Linked DNA regions of Homo sapiens: all the other regions are linked to region 1. The links are contacts of gene promoters, found by promoter capture Hi-C in blood cells and fetal thymus (Javierre and others, 2016). All regions are on one chromosome and are shown on one strand. The core of a region is centred on a gene start or on the middle of the fragment in contact, and the rest is flanking DNA. Distances in the headings are between cores, read along the strand shown. Region 1 holds the start of KBTBD3 (kelch repeat and BTB domain containing 3). Region 2 overlaps BIRC3 (baculoviral IAP repeat containing 3). Region 3 overlaps DCUN1D5 (defective in cullin neddylation 1 domain containing 5).

Region 1 (4,798 bases), core at 584-3,083:
AACTCTACATATAAACACAAACATGAGATTATACTTATGCAGTATTCTACCACATATAAGCTTTAAATTTATAAGTATTGGGAAGTATTTTATGTCTGTACACACACGTCTGGTCCATGCAGTTTTAACTGTAGCATATTTCATAATATTATTTCCCCTTTATTGGACATTTTAGGCTGGCTCTAGACTTGCTGTCAAAAACAACTCTGCAGTGAGCAACCCTACTGTACCTACATCTGTGCATATGTATTTCTAGATCCCATATATTGATCACCCAGCTTCAACAATTAGCAAGGCATGACCTATCTTGTTCTGCTCTCTCCCACCTCCAATTATTATTTTTTAAATAATTACTAAAAACACACACACAAAAAAACAAGAATATAAGATGACAAAGTATATATTTTTAAAAATATCTTTCAGGTTTTTTTCTTCTTCAATTCTAACACTGACTTTTAAAAACTGCAGGCTTTTAAATGTAGCTTATTTTACAATTCCTTACAAATGAGTAAAAAATTTTCACCAATGTGCCTTAAAAATTATCAACTAGTCTACATTTCAAACAGAAAGTGTTTCAATATGGGACATTTTTAAGAAAGGACTGTCTTTTAAATGATGGTAATTCACGGTTGTTTCAAATTGCACCATATTGTACAGATTACTTGTTTTGAAATCCAGTTTTCCATTTGTTGCTTCAAAATACATAGCTAAAATAAATAAATCTACGTAAAATACTGTTTCCCATGGCATCTAGTGAGGAAGGTATCCTCTCTGGCTTCAATTTCATTGGCTTCAATCCCGGGGAGCGCAGGGCTACAAACTAAATCATACTGTCAATAATTTCTAGGGCCTACCACGTGCAGGGAGTCCTTGGAGAATGATGGGATATTTAACAGGCAGAATAAGCATAGGCTATGAACGCACACAAACAAAAAAAAATAACATTTAAAGATAAAGACATAAAAACATTCATTACAGAAAAACCCAATTTTGTCGGCCTTCCCTACACTTATTTCATGGTTTAGGAGGGTCTCCATTTGAAATAACAAGGGGAAAGAGATAATGTTTACAGCCATCGCGGCCTCCAAGGCGGTTACAAAGGCCGTGGAAACCAGGCCGTGCGTCGCCCACAACTCCGCAGCGCCGGCTGCTGTCGCCCGGGCCGGCCACAGGCTCCACAGCGAGAGGGTCGCGGCCAGCGCGGGAGTGTCGGGTCTCCACAGCCCGGCCCGCCTCCCCCAAGATCTGCTTCCTAGGCTCTAAATACCAAAAAAGACCTGTAGTACCATGGCTGCCTTAGCGTCCCGGGCAAAGACGAACTGGCCAATGCGCTCCTTCTCCTCGGGCTGAATCGATCGCACTGCCAGCAGCCATTCGGCTCGGCTCGGCAGCCAAGTGCCGCAGGAAAAGGCCCAGCGCACGCCCTCCATGGATGGCACCAAGCAGAACCGTTTGGCAGGGAAAACCATACACTGAAAGCGGACCTCGCCGCTATCTCGGGCCTGATGGCGCGGACGCAAACGTGGCCCCACCCCCTTCTTCCCGGCGTCCGTGCGCAGGGGACGGGCCGTCGCTACGCAGACTGGCCCACCGACAGCCCTCCCAGCCCGCCCCCGACTCAGCCACCTCCTCTCGGAGAAAGCAGCTGGGGGCGGAGACGGAGATCAGCCCTGCGCTTTGCGGCATTGTATGACGTCAAGTAGGCGAGGCTTCGGAGGCGAGCGAAGGGCGGGACCAAGGCCAAGAGCCCGACAGTTACGCCACTCACACTTGCGGAAGAGTTAACGGGACAGCGGTGCAGGCCAATCGCAACCAGTCCTCTGGAGGCAGGGAGACTGGGGTGGAGACTTCGGAGACTGCAGTTGCAGGTGGGTGAGCTCCGGGGTCTGAGGGAGGAGTGGGATGGTAGCCCTTATTCTCAGGGTCTGAGTTGGCCCCTGTGACCCACAGAGAAGAGAATGTCCTTGGCTTCAGCTGCTTCGTGTACGGGGCACGAGAGGTTTCCATCTCTAGGAGGGGGTCTGCAGTGGTGCCCCCTGCAGTTGTGCAACGCATCAGCCCTGAGTTCCTTCTTTCCCTGCCCCCATCCGCATCAGCCTAAGACCCACCCTCACACAGTACGCTCCCGACCCTTAGCAGCAGCCTACCTGAAACCCTCCCTCCGAAGGCCGAGCAGAGGCACTATCCCCAGTGCGCAACACTGACCCCGCCTGGATCCGAGGCTGCCAGCGAGCAGCTGAGCTAATGCTGGCTGTTTATTTGGGGCGATGAAGCGACCCAGGTGCTGTTTTGCTATTGCCAAGCCTGGGCTAGAGCACTAGCGAGAAAACAGGATTCCATTGTTGAGGTATCAGTGTTTCCATCATGACAGAGGTCCTTGCTCTAACAGCAACAGAAACAAGTAAATAACTTTGCTCAGTTATTTTCTCAGACTTTGCGAAGGGTCATATTGATGTATGTCTGTTTCCTTAGTTGTTCCGTGTAGGCTGTTGTTGACTCTCGTATGAAAGCCCACGCGATCCAAGTGCCCTGCAGGTTTTGGTCCAGGGAAAAGTTGGTCTCTGCAGATGACTGTAAATGACTACCTGGAGGTCGATTAAAGTGCGGTACTGCGGGATTCAGCCGATTTCCTTCTTCCTCTGACTGCCCGGAAATATCAGCCAAAGGCCAGCGGTAGTAATTAACACAATTACCTGCCTATGATTTCTGTCCTATTTAAGATGGGTTCTATTATGTTTTTATCTATACTTGTCTTCATTAACTTTTCGTGATATCATAAGCCCCCCGAATCCCTCGAAAGTAGATGGGATTCTGAGCACACACACACACAAATTCAGATCCCCAAAGGACAGTAAAACGAATTATTGGCTTAATATATCATCTTAGCTAACCAAAAGCCTGTGTCAGCTGCCATGTTGAAAATCTGCTTACCAGCTGCAGGGAGCTTACAATCTGGTAAGGCAAATAAATCATACGCATAAAAAGTACAATAAGAGACAGTGTAAAGATACGTAAGTGATACTAATACCCATATCAGCAATGATCATAACTCACTTCTCCATTTTTAACTAAGAATCATATAACCTTTCCTTCTTGTCGTTTTAAACTGATTTTTATAACTTTGATACATTACGTTTCTGTTTCCAAAACACTTCTGTGTACGTTATTGCACATGTTCTGTGCACTAGTTATTACTGATGGAGACAATGAGCTCAGAAAGAGAATTTGTTTAAATTCAGGAATTCATATCCCATTATTTTACCATCGAGCAAGATCTCTGTGTATTAGATCTATGGAGCCTAATACACAGACAGTAACGTAGGGATTATTTGTACTTGGTCTAGAATCTAGAATATTCTCCCCTTCTCCCATTATCACATTCCTTGTTTCCTCTGTATCATTCAGGCCCAAATCTCATACCAAACAGAATGTCTCTGTTCACCTAGTCTAAAATAGCTTACTCTCTCCACTTCCAAACCTCAGCCCCAAACCTATCACCCTGTGAACATATTTTATAGGTTTGTTTAATCCCCTTCCCTGTGTGGTTTTACAAATTCTCCAGAGCTTAGCTTAAACCTTCTCTTAGGGCCTACTTCAGAGTACCTTTTTCCAAAACAGTATTGTTTATGTAATTCATTTGGCAGTTATTCTAGTATTGCCTTATGACGTCTCTCCTATTGTCCTGAATTATTTTCATGTGTGTTATCTTGCAAAATAGAATGTACAGTACTTGAGAGGGAATGTCATGTATACCTTTTACAAATAGTATACATGAGTAAATGTTATTAATGACTCCACAATAGATTTATTACTGTCAAGGGTAACACTGCTTTTTATATTCTATCTGCCTTTACTTCCCTCACTTTTATTAAGGAAATATAAATATGCAGTTCATAACTTGCTTAACTATATTAAATGAACCCAACAATTTTATTAAAATATTTTTTACTGCATTGGTCAGGGGAAGAAGAGGACTAAAGTAATAGGGGCTCACTCAGTCTGTAATGATCATCTTGCTTGGTGCTGATCTGTGGCTTCTTAGCAGGATTCTGAGGGACTCGTATTCTATTTCCAGCTCTACCACCAATTGTCTGTGTGACATTGGTCACACAGGATCCTATGTGTGACATAACCTCTTCCATGTATTAATTTCAATGGAAAGGCATCGGATGAGATCATCTCTAAGTCTAGGTGTTTTTTAGATATACTCACTAACTTTTTATTGGGTCACAAACTTTATTCTACCTCAAACCCTTCTTTTTTCCCCCAAGACTTATTTGAATAGCTCCATAATTCTACCAGTTTCTCAAGGAAGAAACCATGATGCTGCTCTTCTTTGACTCCCTATATCCAATCCATCTCCAAGTGTTTTTGGCTCTATTTCTAAAATACAGAAAAATCCATTTATTTCTCTTTATTCCCACTGTTAACAATCTAGTATAACCCACCATCATTTTTCATCTGAAATACTAATCAGTTTTCTAGCCTGCCTGAGAAAGGGGAGCACTCTCTTCCAATGTCTTCTATGCCATAAGCACAACTTGCTTTCAGAGCTAAATCTAGAAATCTATGCCCTTAATTCTTATGTTACATTGCCCTCTAATTAGACTGAGAAGGAGAGGCCAGCAAGGTAGGAAACCTGAAGAATGTTGTGGCACAGAAACTAAAAGACGAGTGTTTCAAGGACTAGTTAACAGTGTGAATTATCCTAAGAGGTGAAATAAGATGAGGAGAGAGAAGTGAGAATTTACCTTCAAGATGGTAGTGTGGTGACATTGACAAGGGCAGTTTTAATGGA
Region 2 (4,798 bases), core at 969-3,468, 3.8 Mb after region 1:
TTTTTTTTTTTTTTTTACCAGTGGTTTGCAAGCATGGTTTCCTGGATCTCACAGACGTTGGGCTTTTCAACTGCAGACTTCAATGCTTTGTTTCCAGGTGGCAGGAGAAACATCACATCTCATTACCAACAATTATTTCCCTCAAAGGTAAGTAATTGTATCTAACTTCAATATTCCTTTCCCTGGCCAAAAATTTTACACATTGTTATAAAAATCTTCTTTGTATTCATCACTGTCTTTATATTAATTTTCTAAGTTTCTTCATTTCCTAAAATGTAACCTTCAACCATCATTCTCATCCTCATCATTCTCAGCGGTAACAGCCCATTTAAACAAACTTTTGGACGTTTAAAATATCAGTGGCCTTGTAAATAACTGGATAATTTCTTGACCAATCATCACATTTATCTTTTTACTTCCTCTAAATTTGTTGCACATATCAAAAAGCTTTGTTCTTGATTTTTCTTTGTCACTGTAGAAGTATTTTAATGTGTCAAAACTTTCATCTGCATGTTTCTTTAATTTGCAGTGGATTGATTATTAGCTCTTTGTTCCAAATAACTGTCACTCATTTTAAAATCTTTCCCAAACACAGGTACTATTTCTATTCTACATAATGGGAGAATGTGCCAGTAGGAGACTGCCTGGCCAACTCTGAAAAAAATGCTTTAACAATATGCCCCAGCTAGAATCACTTTTCCTTTATTTCCACAAATCAAATTCAAAATCAAACTCATTATGGTATACCTTATATAACTCGATCATGTTTATAAAATTAGCATTCTTTGGATAGTAAAACACCAGTTAATACTTAATTTGTTTACCCATGCACAAAACTACCTCCCGAGATTAGACTAAGTCCCTTTAAGGATTTTAGGTCTCCATTTTGAGATGTTTTGATTTATAGAAGAAACTGAAAAAAAAATCTAGAAGAAGTCGTTTTCCTCCTTTGTAAACCTGTTCAAAAACAAACAAAAAGACAGTTTTAAAACTCAAACGACTCATGGATGGAACACAATGACTTTTTAAAAAATCATTTTCTCCAAAATAGAGTACTAGTAATTACTGATCGTTTACCATGTATCAGGTGCTTTACTAGGCACTGTAGAGGCCAAAAAGAGATAAAAAACAGAGGCCTCTGCCTGGTGCAGTGGCTCACGCCTGTAATCCCAGCATTTTGGGAGGCCAAGACAAGTGGATCACTTGAGGTCAGGAGTTCAAAACCAGCCTGGCCAAAATGGTGAAACCCCATCTCTACTAAAAATACAAAAATTAGCTGGGTGTGGTGGTACGCGCCTGTAATCCCAGCTACTCCGGAGGCTGAGGCAGGAGAATCATGTGAGCCTGGGAGGTGGAGGTTGCAGTGGGCCGAAATAGTGCCACTACACTCCAGCCTGGGTGACACAGCAAGACTCTGTCTCAAAAATAAAATAAAATAAAATAAAACCCAGAGGTTTCAAACTGGAAGACATATTATGTTTGGCTTACATAGAATTGCATTATAGTTCTTTACTAAGTTTTTATTTTTATTTTGAAATTTATTTATACTTAGAGAAAGCTTACAAAAATAATAGTTTCTGCATACTCTGCACTTAGCTTCCCCAAAGCTAACATCTTACCTAATTACAGTGCAATTAAAGAAACCAGAAAATTCACATTGTACCATGCTGTAGATTAATCTGCATGCCTCATTTGAATTTAATCCAGTTTCCAAATCCATTTTTTTCTTGGACCACAGTATTTTTAAATCTTACCATTAATTGCCAACATGTTTAAATGTAAGAGACTTCCCATCACATTCTAGATTCCAAGCTTCTCTTGAAACATCAAAAGATCTAGCAACACTGGGCCTATAGTCCTGCAGGGCAGCAATCAGCTAAAGCTGAGCAGCAGCTGTGCCCTTTAGAGAGGGAACATGTTCTCTTTGATTCCCTGACACTGGGACTGACTGTTCTGGTAGTCTCCACTAACAGTAACAGTCTAGCAATAACAGACTGTTGCTATTTGTCATTGAACTGGCACTATTGTTTTTCTTACAGCAGAATTATGAGAAAGTGAAATCAATGTAACACATGTGTCCATCAAAAGTAACAAAAATGAAAAGTAGAGAAAAAGGACATATGTTTTGAGAAAAATAGGATAATTTTTGTCTTTGTGGAAAGGAAGGATATTCCTTCATATCAAATACGTAAACAGAGTATGCTTTCATTTAAAAGAGACACCCCACAAGGCCTCATGCCATGGCTCACTCCTGTAATCCCAGCACTTTGGGAGGCTGAGGTAGATGGATTGCTTGAGCCCAGGTGTTTGAGACCAGCCTCAAACTGGGTGACTTGGCAAAACACCATCTCTACAAAGAAACTCAAAAATTAGCCAGACATGGTGGCACCTGCCTGTGGTCCCAGCTACTTGAGAGGCTGAGGCAGGAGGTTCACTTGAGCCCATGAGGCAGAGCTTGCAGTGTGAGACTGCATAACTGCACTCCAAACTGGGTGACAGAGCAAGACCCTGTCTCAAAAAAAGAGAGAGAGAGAGAAAGAGAGACACTGAGAGTTTTTCTCATTTATATCACCTCCATTTGAGTTTGCAAACCCCTTACACAAATCTTATCCTAAAGAAGCTTTAGGTCAGGCGTGGTGGCTCACGCCTGTAATCCCAGCACTTTGGGAGGCCAAGGAAAGCAGATAACTTGAGATCAGGAGTTCGAGACCAGGCTGGCCAACATGGTGAAACCCTGTCTCTACTAAAAATCCAAAAAAAAAAACCATCGGGCGTGGTGGCACGCACCTGTATTTCCAGCTACTCAGGAGACTGAAGCAGGAGAATCACTTGAACCCGGGAGGTGAAGGTTGCAGTAAGCCAAGATCACACCACTGCACTCCAGCAAGGCATATATTTGTGGAAATTTAGGCAACAACTATACAATAAATATACACAAATATGCCAAGATGTCAACCCTAGATCACTTCAACCTCTGTCCTAATCATTTCCAACACCTAGATGCAACCCTGCAGACTGGGACCAGCATCACTTAAGACTCCTCTGCCATCCCTTAGCAATAGGCTCAGCTCCCTAGCCCATGCCCTATGCACCTCTTCTAAACCTTCAACACCTTCCTCAAATTTCTCCACTGCACTCCATCTCATTTTCAGTCAATTACTTTGCCTTCTGTTTCTCAAAGAAAAGAGACATCATTGAGCAGGAACCTTCTCACGTTCTCATATCCAAGCCGTTTTGGCTCACAACCTACTTGCTGTCTCAGTTAAAGACTTGCCCCCTTATGGGATCCTACACTGTCCTACTGCCTCAGAAATCTTGTTCTTAATCCCATCCCCTCATTGCTTCAACTCTCATTCCTGTCACTCTCGACTGGCCTTTTTCCTTTCACATAACCATGCTTAAATCTATCTCAACTTTCAAATGAAAGAAATTTTTAAAATTCTCTTTCGGCCGGGTGTGGTGGCTCATGCCTGTAATCCCAGCACTTCAGGAGGCTGAGGCGAGTGGATCACGAGGTCAGGAGACTGAGACCATCCTGGCTAACACGGTGAAACCCCGTCTCTACTAAAAAAAATACAAAAAATTAGCCGGGTGTGGTGGCATGCACCTGTAGTCCCAGCTGCTCAGGAGGCTGAGGCAGGAGAATCGCTTGAACCCGGGAGGTGGAGGTTGCAGTAAGCCGAGACTGCACCACTGCACTCCAGCCTGGGTGACAGAGTGAGACTCTGTCTCAAAAAAAAAAAAAAAAAATCCTCTTTCAACCACACTTTCCACTCTAGCAACTACCCTGTATCACCCCTTCTCTTCACAGCCAAGCAAACTGGACATGTGTGTATGGTTAATGTCTCCATTTTCCCTCTCCCATTTACTCATTAAGTCAGCATCACTTAAAACTGCTTTCGGTGTTAATAACACCAATGGCTTTTTTGCTAAAACCAATGGAAATGTTTGCATCTGACACTGGGACACACTTCCTCTTAGAAATGTCCCATTCCCTGGGCTTCTCTGATACCAAGCTCTTGGGATTCTTCTTTCATTTCTAGTGGTTCCTTCTCAGATTGGCTCAGTCCCCAGCCTCTCCTCTTCTGACTCATTCATTTAACCTACCAAGAAGGCAACCTCCCCAGTCCCAGGGCTGTTGGGCATCCCTACCCTTTGGGCATGCAGCACATCCATTTTTCTGACACTGGAGGGCAAGTGTGCCTTTTCTTTCTGCCTCCCGCTAGACAGTAAGCTCTTTTAGAATGGCAACTATTAATATGTTTCATCTCTGTACCTGCCCTCCCACTCATAGCATCTGCAGAGCTTGGTATATGGGGTAGACACGAAGACTTCCCGTTGAAGAAGTAAATGACTGAGACCTGAGTGACCACAGTACTTCTATCAATTTTATATTAATGACCACAGAGTCAGCTCAGTGATTGATTAGTATCAGGCTTTGGAGTCAGACATCGGGGGTGCCCAATACCAAGCAGTCCGGTAACCAGAAGCATGACCTTGCACAAGTAAATCTCCAAGAGCCTCAGTTTCCTCATTGTCAAATGGAGATAATTATGGTACCTGCTTCTTAAGATTATGATAATTAAACGTGAAAAATACATGTAAAGTCTTCAGAGACAAACCTAGCACATAGCAGGTAGCAGTACTTAATGTTAGCAATAAATAATAGCAAATAAAGTCAATATTTAATATTATTGTTACGTTAGCATCAGGTACATGCCTTCGACAATGTATTGATCAGAGTAAGAGCACTACTAGGTTTCCATGCTGATCACCAGGAAGACAACCAAAAACTGCT
Region 3 (4,798 bases), core at 1,698-4,197, 3.0 Mb after region 1:
GTAATAATCATGATTAGTCATCTATATTGTGTAATGCTTTATAGTTTGCAGACTACTTTGTTAACATTCGTTTGTTTTCTATTCATATAGGCTTTCTATAACTGAATTGGCTTTCCTTTTTGTGTGAAAGAATTTGTGGGTATATGAACTGGATATAACTGGCCTAGACTAGCCATTTTGTAAGTTTCAGGGGATGAAATTGCCATATGCTTTTCACATCTATTCTTCCATGTAGTTTTCATCTTTGTTTAATAATAGCCAAATTTCCTTGCAAATCTAAGGTGTTAATTTTTTTTTTTTTTTTTGAGACAGGGTCTGGCTCTGTTACCCAGACTGGAGAGCAGTGACACAATCATGGCTCACTGCAACCTAATCTCCTGGGCTCAAGTAATCCTCCCACTTCAGCCTCTCAAGTAATTGGGACCACAGGCACATGCCACCACACCTGGCTATTTTTTTTTTGAGAGACAGGGTCTCACTATGTTGTCCAGGCTGGTCTCAAACTCCTGGGCTCAAGTGATGCTCCAGCTTGTCTCACTATGTTGCCCAGGTTGGTCTCAAACTCCTGGGCTCAAGTGATCCTCTAGCCTTGGCCTCCCAAAGTGTTGCAATTACAGGCGTAAGCCACTTTGCCCAGTATTAATTTTAATTTAATTTTGTAGATATTTATATTAGACACCTATATTATGTAAGGCACAGTATCACTTACTGGTGATCACAGCGAGGAATAAGATGCAGCTTTTGTCCTTTAGTCATATTCTACTAGGTCAGGGAAAACATTACAATACTGTAACCCAGCCAACCTTTTTGGCACCAGGGATCAGTTTCGTAGAAGACAGTTTTACCATGGATGGGGCTGGGGAGAAGGGAAGGATGGCTTTGGGATGAAACTGTTCCACCTCAGATTATCAGGCATTAGATTCTCATAAGGCGCATGCAACCTAGATCCCTCGCACGCACAGTTCACAATAGGGTTCGCATTCCTGTGAGAATCGAATGCCGCTGCTGTTCTGACAGGAGGTGGATATGCTGGCTCACTCGCCTGCCGCTTGCCTCCTGCTATACAGCCTGGTTTCTAACAGGCCACAGGCTGGTAATTATGCTCAGCCCAGACATTGGGCACCTTGCTGTAACCATAAACCAAGGAGAACGTGACATGTGCTAGAGTGGAAATACAAGATACTATGAAAGCACAGATGAGTAAGGTTAATTTCAGCTGAGTAGGTAGGTAAATGTAGGTGTGGCCTGTGAACTAGAACATGAAGAATGATTAGGATTTTGTTTGTTGAGGATACAGGAAAATGTTTCAGAAGAGGGAAATTGTGAGCAGGACCTTGAGGAAGGAAAGCATATGTTTGAAGGAAGTAGTTTGATTTCTTAAAATTGTAAAGTACATAAAAAAATTGCCAGGATAGGTTTTGAATTCTAATATTTTGAGTGATGGCTTCACTGTAGAGTGCTTTAGCTAATACGTTGAGAGAGTTTAAATCTATGTTACAGATATTGGGAAACCATCAGAGATTTTAAAGCACAGGAATTTTAAAAGATTTGGGGGATAATTTTCAATGAGCAATTGTTTTTAATATTTTAAAGTCACAGTCTCTTTTGAGAGTCTTATGAGAACTATGGACCTCGTTCCCATTAAGAGGCACATGTACTGCTAGACACAAAAATTTGATGTGCTCTCAGGAGGTTATGGAATTTCTCTTCCTTCGTCTATAGATACGAGGTTTCAAGGATACTTGGCGAGTTTTTGTTCTGGCATAGTGTACTAGAGTGGAGGTCTTTTCTCATATCTGCTAGCTGAAAGTCTGGTGTTGGAGCAAGGGTGAAATACTATACCAGTGGAGAAAACTGAATATAGACCTTTGAAGAGGACCGTACTTGATTATGATAATGAAAAGGACAAGACAAGAGCATCTGACAACAGTGATAGTAATTAAGCTGCCTGCCGGTAGGTTGCAGTTTGTAAATCTAGTCTCTATTGAGCCCCGGACTTTGAAGTGTAAAAGGAATGGCATGGCTTGACCGTCTTAGCGAGAGGGGAATAGGGAACATTTATATGATTTTTTTTTTTGGTGGGGGTGGAAGAGGAGAGTAAATGAAATGCCATCGTGTGTGATGTGACTGTCATTCATTTAGCATTTGGGGCCCAACTACTAATTGCCATTAGCATCCTTTCCCTCTGTTCTCTCTTAAGGTCATTATGACAATTTCAAAATGCCCCTCTGCACATTTTCAAATACCCCTAGAAGTAGATGGTATTGTTCTGGTTGAGAAAGCTTATTTAGAGGAAGTTCTAAATCCAGAACTTTGTGACACAATTCTTCGTGTTACACATCAATGTGTCACAGCACAGTCACTGGGACTTATGGATTAGGAAGAGAGCCTCACTTACATCTAATACATGCATGAAACTTTCTTCTCACTTTAAAGGTCTTTAATGAAACACAAGTTCAAAAGCCTCCCTTTGTAATCAGTTGCTTAGCAATACCAGGAAATTAATTTCCGAGTCCTAACGTTGAAATTAATACCCATTTCTTCTCTTTCTAACTACAGTGGCCTTGGAGAATGGTGTATTGTATTGTGCCAGTGTTCCCTCAAATCTGTGTGGTTTTATTTGGTTGTTATTTGGAAAACTATCTCTTGCTTTCCATAGTACGCTAGTTAAGTATGCATTTCTTTTTATTTCGGAGGAAATATTCTTTTTTCTAAACTTCCCAATTTCTGAGGTATTGATGTTAGTATTTTGGAGCTAGATTCGATATAAAAATTGTATTGCTGTTAGTAACTGCTTCGGTATGTTGGTTTTGCCAGATGTGTTCACAGTCTTCATGATACTGTTAATAAATATGGAGGTTTGTGCTCTTATTCTTTTTTTTTTATTTGAGACGGCGTCTTGCTCAGTCTCCCAGGCTGGAGTGCAGTGGCGCGATCTCGGCTCACTGCAAGCTCCGCCTCCCGGGTTCACGCCATTCCCCTGCTTCAGACTCCTGAGTAGCTGGGACTACAGGCACCCGCCACCACACCCAGCTAATTTTTTTTGTATTTTTAGTAGAGACGGGGTTTCACCATGTTAGCCGGGATGGTCTTGATCTCCTGACCTCGTGATCCACCCGCCTCGACCTTCCAAAGTACTGGGATTACAGGCGTGAGCCACCGTGCTGGCCTATTCTTTTTTTACTACAAAAAAGTCTGTTGGATTCTTTCTCTGCTCAAGATTTACAGTAGACCATTAGGAATGGTATGACGTAGTTTCTACCAAGGTGTGTAGTGTAGGTGATTTTTAATCCATTTGCCTCAAAAGAAGCATATCAAGGACTGTGCTAAGCATTTAACACATGGATTCTCATTTAATCTTTATGGTTGTCCTATGAAATTATTATTGTTACCATTTTAAAAATCAGATAACTGAGGCTGAAAAAGGTTAAGTAACTTGCCATATAGTTGTCCTATTAAATTATTATCGTCGTTTTAAAAATGAGGAAACAGGCTGAAAACGGTTTAGTAACTTGCTGAAAGCCACATGACCAGAAATAGAGAAGCTAGAATTTTAACCAATCTGTTTGACTTGAAAATTTGTTCTTCCCTTCACTTTATTTCTTAAGCTTATTGAAATTACATAAGTAAGATAGTAACTTTGTGTACCCATGAAATGTAAAATATTTGGAAAATATTATAATATCTTGGATTCTTATCTCCTTAGTGACTTCTCAGTCACTATGTGCTTTGTGATTTTGTTTGATCTACCATTTACCACTAAGTTTCTCCCAGATAGGAATTTTGAAACATTATATAATTAAATAAATATATCACCTACCCTGTGGTTTATTTTTGGTGGTCACACTTTTATTTAACAAATATTTTTGGAGTGCTATATGTCAGGTCCTGTGTTATGCTATGACAGTGATTTTTTAAATCTGATGGTAAGGAAAGAAAGAACTTTGAATGTCAGGAGGCATCCTTTATCTTCTTTGCCCCCTTAACACTTAAGTCTCAAGCCTGTTAAGATTCTGTGTGAGATTTTGTATGAAAGATGTGACTCACATTATGAAGACTTCATCTCCATATTTTCAAACATTATAGTGGCATGTAATCTGAGAAATTTGCTTTGCATATCCCCATGGTAGAAGTCAACTTTCATTAAAGCATTATTTTTCACATAATGAATAATTTTTGCACTAACAGAAACCACTTAGTGAAATAGTAGGTAATGAATTTCTAATAAGTAAGAATAAATTTTTCTTGTTTCCTCATCAAGCATATTGTGCATTCATTCATATATAAGGAATTCTGGTTAACTTATCCAAATTTTGATTTCCATTTCTGGCAATATGGCTACTAAATGTGTGGAGAAACCATTTCTCATGTAAAACGCTTAAATGCTGGATAACATATAAAAACATCTTGGCCAGGCCCGGTGGCTCACGCCTGTAATCCCAGCACTTTGGGGTTTGAGGCGGGCAGATCATGAGGTCAAGAGTTTGAGACTAGCCTTGCTGACTTGGTGAAACCCCGTCTCTACTAAAAATACAAAAATTAGCTGGGCATGGTGGCATGCGCCTATAGTCCCAGCTACTCGGGAGGGTGAGGCAGAAGAATCACTTGAACCCCGGAGGCGTAGGTTGCAGTGAGCTGAGATTGCACCTCTGCACTCCAGCCTGGGCGACAGAGTGAGACTCCATCTCAAAAAAAAAAAACTTTTTAAAAGTACACTTGGACTTGCCTGTAAGGAAAATAATCAGAGGCCAGAAATGATGAGTGATGGTGATTACATAGAGATCTATGGAGCTGACAT

The links. The method cuts DNA at HindIII sites, captures the fragments that hold promoters and counts their contacts. A CHiCAGO score of 5 or more calls a contact.
Region 2: a fragment that was not itself captured here is called in contact with the fragment with the promoter of KBTBD3 in region 1 in 1 of 17 cell types (naive CD8 T cells); the score reaches 6.3 in naive CD8 T cells.
Region 3: a contact is called between a fragment that was not itself captured here and the fragment with the promoter of KBTBD3 in region 1, in 1 of 17 cell types (M0 macrophages). The highest score is 5.5, in M0 macrophages.

What each region holds. Positions count from the first base shown.
Region 1 is chr11:106,074,382-106,079,179 of GRCh38, reverse strand. It overlaps KBTBD3 (kelch repeat and BTB domain containing 3), which reads left to right and starts at 1,833. Exons shown (of 4, transcript NM_198439.3): 1 at 1,833-1,868; 2 at 2,473-2,673. It overlaps AASDHPPT (aminoadipate-semialdehyde dehydrogenase-phosphopantetheinyl transferase), which reads right to left and starts at 1,518. Exons shown (of 6, transcript NM_015423.3): 1 at 1,287-1,518. The coding sequence starts at 1,469. RefSeq lists enhancers at 1,251-1,490, 1,801-1,910, 1,921-2,040. The HindIII fragment of the contact is 8,387 bases long and covers 63-4,798 here.
Region 2 is chr11:102,317,996-102,322,793 of GRCh38, reverse strand. BIRC3 (baculoviral IAP repeat containing 3) reads right to left here. Exons shown (of 9, transcript NM_001165.5): 2 at 1-957. Among named protein-coding and RNA genes, the nearest start is that of BIRC3, 2.9 kb to the right of the region's middle. RefSeq lists enhancers at 2,328-2,437, 3,059-3,138, 4,009-4,058, 4,319-4,518, 4,664-4,798. The HindIII fragment of the contact is 808 bases long and covers 1,815-2,622 here.
Region 3 is chr11:103,075,290-103,080,087 of GRCh38, reverse strand. All of the region lies in intron 4 of DCUN1D5 (defective in cullin neddylation 1 domain containing 5), which reads left to right. Among named protein-coding and RNA genes, the nearest start is that of DCUN1D5, 14 kb to the left of the region's middle. The HindIII fragment of the contact is 1,326 bases long and covers 2,285-3,610 here.